2 separate regions of the Homo sapiens genome follow, and region 2 is linked to region 1. Evidence: promoter capture Hi-C in human tissues and cell types (Jung and others, 2019). All regions are on one chromosome and are shown on one strand. The core of a region is centred on a gene start or on the middle of the fragment in contact, and the rest is flanking DNA. Distances in the headings are between cores, read along the strand shown.

Evidence for each region. The method cuts DNA at HindIII sites, captures the fragments that hold promoters and counts their contacts. A contact is called where the count stands out against the background at its distance.
Region 2: a contact is called between a fragment that was not itself captured here and the fragment with the promoter of ZNF839 in region 1, in 1 of the 25 tissues and cell types used here (adrenal gland).

What each region holds. Positions count from the first base shown.
Region 1 is chr14:102,318,406-102,321,113 of GRCh38, reverse strand. It overlaps ZNF839 (zinc finger protein 839), which reads right to left and starts at 1,368. Exons shown (of 8, transcript NM_018335.6): 1 at 1,061-1,368. The coding sequence starts at 1,348. RefSeq lists an enhancer at 749-858 and silencers at 959-1,148, 1,209-1,308. The HindIII fragment of the contact is 9,233 bases long and covers 1-2,708 here.
Region 2 is chr14:103,356,262-103,358,969 of GRCh38, reverse strand. No RefSeq gene overlaps it. Among named protein-coding and RNA genes, the nearest start is that of SNORA28, 20 kb to the right of the region's middle. The HindIII fragment of the contact is 3,148 bases long and covers 1-2,708 here.

The sequences.
Region 1 (2,708 bases), core at 119-2,618:
TGGACAGAATCACACTGGTCTTCCTAAACCTTAGCAAGACAACTCTCCAGTCTTGATGATTAACTGGATACAACCCTAAGCAGCTAACATCAGTCAAAAAAACTCAACGAGTGAAGGTTCCTGATTCTATTCCCTAACCCGTTTCTTCTAGTGGAAAAAGCTGTCTTCTTTTGGCAATTTTGGGGTGAGACTAATTTTGTTTACAACCCCAGCGCTGAAATGGGGTGGAATTTTACAGATGCCGTGTAGGCCCTCTGGCTTCAGGCGCTATGCTTCACCCTCCGGAGTTGGGCGACCGTCTTCTAGTTATCACCCCCCTAGCAACCAAAAGGTGTGTGGCCCAGGAAATAAACCCACTGGGAAAGGATGTTTTGTAGTATACAGAGTGCTTTCACATATTCCAAACATTGTGTATCAGGCACTGTGCTGGGTACTGCGGTTACAAATCAGTCACTATCACCCAGGATGTTAAGTCCTGCAGCGAACTAGTGTATTGTGCTTGACTTTGTTCCAAGCCTGGGCCTTGGCACCTTACAACTGAAAAGCTAAGTTGGTTCCTTTTAATTCATTTATGTTTCAGCTCCAGTGTCTGGCCTACGGGACCACCCACTCTAAAGCAGCCCCCGTCAATCCCAGAACCTGCCTTATGTTCGTTCTTCAGCAAGTGTGTTCAAGGCTTCACCTCCTGCACATAGTGGGGAGTGCTGGGAACACGGTCTCTAAGTGCTCCACAAAGGCTGAACCAGCGGTGAAAGGCCTGTAAGAAGAGCTAGGGAGCACGCAAAAGCCCCCAGCAGGGCTGTGAAGGCAGAGAAGGCACGAGGGCGTTCCAGGCACAGGGCCCAGCGTGAGCAACCGCTCCTAGAGTGAGGCTCCTGGGGTGAAAATGCCAGGGTGGTGACAGGTGGGGGCCGAACGCCGTCCCTAAGAAGCTCAGCCTGGGGACGCCCTGAGTCTTAACCCGGGCGGATACTGGCCTCCCCGGACAAGCAGCTACCCCGCCGCGGGGCGTCGGCCCCCTTCGGGCCTCAGTTTCCCCACGTCCCTCCCGACGCCTCACCTGGGGCGGGAGCAGGCGCGGCAGGCGCGGGGGCTCGGTGCCCCGGCCCCGCTGCAGGGCGGCCTGTTGGGCCGCGTCCCGCAGCCGCCGCGCCGCGTCCCGCAGCACGAAGGGGGGCGGCGGCGGCGGCGGCTGCGCCTTCGTCACCTGCTCCAGGACCTGCCGCAGCTGCTCGGGGCCCAGCGGGGCCACACGTGCGACGCTGCCGCTCTGGCCCGGAGGAGCCGGGCCGCCGCCGCCGCCGCCATCCTCGCTGCCGCCCCCAGCCTCCGGCTCCGCATCCGCCATGGCGGCCGAGGCGGGGACTCGAACCCGGGTCGCTGAGCGACGGCGTCTCCAATGTACGTCACCTAGGAGAGGGGCGGGCTACGAGTGCCTCGCAGGCCAAGACACCTAGGAAGGCGACCGTGTCTGGCCGGGAAAGTCGTGGAGTGCCCCGCCCCAGCCGACAACCGCCGCGGCTCTTAGGGCTGATCAGCAGAGCGGACCCCCCTTATTTTCCTTATTGCCTGTCACGGATGTGTTTAAGACTCACCTTCTCTGGGAGCTGTCCCGGATCTCCCAGGGGGAGGTCTTCGGGGTTTCAGAGCCCCTGGCCCAAAAGTTACCACAATATCCAAGTGTTCTGACGTCATCATGCATCCGAATCAGCGGAGGATGCTGTCTGGAGATGCAGAGTACTGTGCCCACCCCTAAACATTTGGATTTATACATCTGGGAGGGGACCACAGTTTGAATTGTTAACGAGAGTGTTTCCCAAATTTTTGCCTTGTCACCGTAGCTTCTCTCTACCCACCCACCCAGATTGGGTGCACCTTGAAGGGAGAGATGATATATTACACAATCGGTGCCCAGCACAGGCCCTGCCCAGAACACAACGCACGCTCAGGGCATGAATGATGGATGGATGAATATGAATAAACGAATGAGTGAACGAATGAATGAACCCACCCTCTCTCTATCCATCCAGCTCCACTGCCCCATCTTCCTCAGCCTGATCGCCTCTCCTTCTTACGGTTGAGGCTCTGTGCGCCCTCCGAATCTTGTAGCTGCAGGTGTGTACACATGTCCCAGCTCCTTTCCCCAGGGAGAGCAGGAGGTCCACTGGTCCACAAACCCTTCTTAAGCACCTGGTGGGTGAACCGCTGTTTCCGCCCTGGGGGGTATACAGTCTAGGTGCCGACCCCCAAGGAGGAAACTTCCCAAGGGGGAAGGAGGAAACTGGCATTTGCAGCACAGTATGATGAGCGCCGAAGCCGGTAAAGTAAGGCTGGCGGCCTGGGTGGCGTCAGAGAAGGTTCTGGAAGATCACCACCATCCTCATCAATACTCACATTGCATTCACGATGATCCCTTCCGTGTTATTTTTTAATGGTGAATTTTATATTATGGGTATCTTACCACAATTTTTTTTTTTTTTTGAGACAAGATCTCACTCTGTCACCCAGGCTGGAGTGCAGTGGCACAATCTCAGCTCACCGCAACCTCCATCGCCTGGGTTCATGCGGTTCTCCTGCCTCAGCCTCTTGAGTAGCTGGGATTACAGGCGTCCGCCACCATGCCTGGCTAATTTTTGTATTTTTAGTAGAGACGGGGTTTCATCATGTTGGTAAGGCTGGTCTTGAAACCCTGACCTTAGGTGATCCGC
Region 2 (2,708 bases), core at 153-2,652, 1.0 Mb before region 1:
TTAGAGAAACAAATATCTTCATCTTCCCTTGTTGGGAATCAAGAGAAGCCTCTATGGATAGAAGAACCAGTAATAAAATCGCAAATATTATGTTTAAGCTTATGGAAGGAACCAATAGAGGGATTGAAAATAATAATAATGGCCAGGCGTGGTGTGAGCCACACCTGAAATCCCAACACATTGGGAGGCTAAGGTAGGCGGATCACTTGAGGTCAGGAGTTGGAGACTAGCCTGGCCAACATGGTGAAACCCCATCTCTACTAAAAATACAACAACAACAACGAAAATTAGCTGGGAGCGGTTGTACATGCCTGTAATTCCAGCTACTAGGGAGGCTGATGCAGGAGAATCGCTTGAACCTGGGAGGCGGAGGTTGCAGTGAGCTGGGATCACACCACTGCACTCCAGCCTAGGCAACAGAGTGAGACTCGGTTTAAAAAAAAATGAAAATAATAATAGAAAATAGTAATAACCACATTGAGAGGAAGATGTGGGGGGATGGGGTGGTGAGTCACCTCTACAGGTGTCACCTGAGACCCCAAGGGATAATGTCTCAAAGTGACAGCAACTTATAGCTATGTACCCGTGTTATATAGTAGTTAGAGGTTAATCACCAGAAAAACCTCAAACAGAAAGTTCAGTTACTACAGGCCAATTCCAAAGCTTGTATTTTTTTTTTTTTTTTTTTTTTTTGGAGACAGACTCTGTCTCTGTCGCCCAGGCTGGAGTGCAGTGGCATGACCCCGGCTCACTGCAACCTCTGCCTCCCAGGTTCAAGCAATTCTCCTGCCCCCATCTTGGTTCACCACAGCCTCCCCATCCTTGCTCAGGTGATTCTCCCACATCAGCCTCCAGAGTCGCTGAGACTACAGGCATGCACAGACATGTCCTGCTAATTTTTGTATATTTTTTAGAGACGGTGTCTCACTATATTGCCCAGGCTGGCCTCGAACTCCTGAGCTCAAAAGATGGCACGCCTTGGCCTCCCAAAGTGCTGGAAGGTGGGAGCTGCCAGGTGTGAGCCACCGTGCCTGGCCTCTTGCTGTTTCATTATCCATTAGATGTGCAGTGTTATTATCTTGGTTCTGTCTGCTCCTGCCCTGTCTCTGAGTTGTTGCCTCACCACGTCACAGTCTTATGAGCTCTTTTTTTTTTTTTTCTTTTAGATGGAGTCTTGCTCCGTTGCCCAGGCTAGAGCACAGTGGCGCGATCTTGGCTCACCGCAACCTCCACCTCCCAGGTTCAAGCAATTCTCCTGTCTCAGCCTCCCGAGTAGCTGGGATTACAGGTGCCTGCCACCATGCCCGGCTAATTTTTGTATTTTTGTAGAGATGGGGTTTCACTGTGCTGGCCAGGCTGGTCTCGAACTCCTGACCTCAACTGATCCACCTGCCTCGGCCTCCCAAAATGCTGGGATTACAGGCGTGAGCCACTGTTATGAGCTCTTTTATGGGGAGATGGATCTGGGGACACCTGCTTTTCTGCCTTGGATTGAATTTCACCATATCTGTTTTTATACTTGTCCTTGTTTGTTTTTTCCTTTGCAGGTTGAATTAAAAAATCAGACTCCAACTGAGGATCACACATTGCATTTAGCAGAAATGTATCTTTAGTCTGCTTTAGTTGCCATAACAAAATACCATAGACTGATTGGCTTACACAATAGAGATTTATTTTCTTGTCCTTCTGGAGGCTGGAAAGTCCAAGATCGTGGTGTCAGCATGATCAGCTCCCAGTGAGGGCTCTCTTCCTGGCTTGCTGTCTTCTTCCTGTGACCCCCACAGGGGACAGAGAGAGAGAGAGAGAGAGAGAGAGAGAGAGAGAGAGAGGGAGAGAAGAGAAAGAAGAGAAGAGAGAGAAGAGAGAGAGACAGGAGAGAGAGAGAGAGAGAGAAGAGAAGAGAAGAGAGAGAAGAGAGAACACACTCAAGAATGCTTTCTGTGCTAAGTGTGGTGGCTCATACCTGTAATCCCTGCACTTTGGGAAGCTGAGGCAGGAGGATTGCTTGAATCCAGGAGTCAAGACCAGCCTGGGGAGCATAATGAGACCTTGTCTCTACAAAAAATAAATAAATTAACAAAATTAGCTGGGCATGGTGACACATGCCTGTAGTCCCAGCTACTTGGGAGGCTGAGGTGAGAGAATCACTTGAGCCCGGGAGGTCAAGGCTGCAGTGAGCTGAGATTGGGCCACTGTACTCTAGCCTGGGCAATGGAGGAAGATCGTGTCTCAAAAAAAAAAAAAAAAAGAAAAGAAAAGGAAAAGAAAAGAAAAACAGAAGTGCTTTCCGGTGTCTCTTATTATAAGAGTACTAATCCCCTCATGAAGGCCCCACCCTTTGACCTCATCTAACCCTATGACCTCCCAAAGGCTCTATCTCCAAATACCATCACACTGGGAGTTTGGTCTGCAATATAGAAATTTTGGGAGGATACTGTTTAGTCCATAGCAACCTTCTTTCTAGATTAAAGAAGACTTTTAAATTTTATTTTATTTATTTATTTATTTTTTGGTGCTTCATGACACTGACGTTTTTGCTTCCTTGTAGTGGCCCTGTGTATGCTTGCATATCTACCAAGCTGTTTACTTTCATTTTGCTCATGGTGTGTTTGGGCTGCTCTGGCTAGGCTATCTCTTCTGATGTTGGGCGGGAGATTTCTCTGACACTCACGTTGTTCTTGGGGGTATTTATCTTCCCCTATATACCA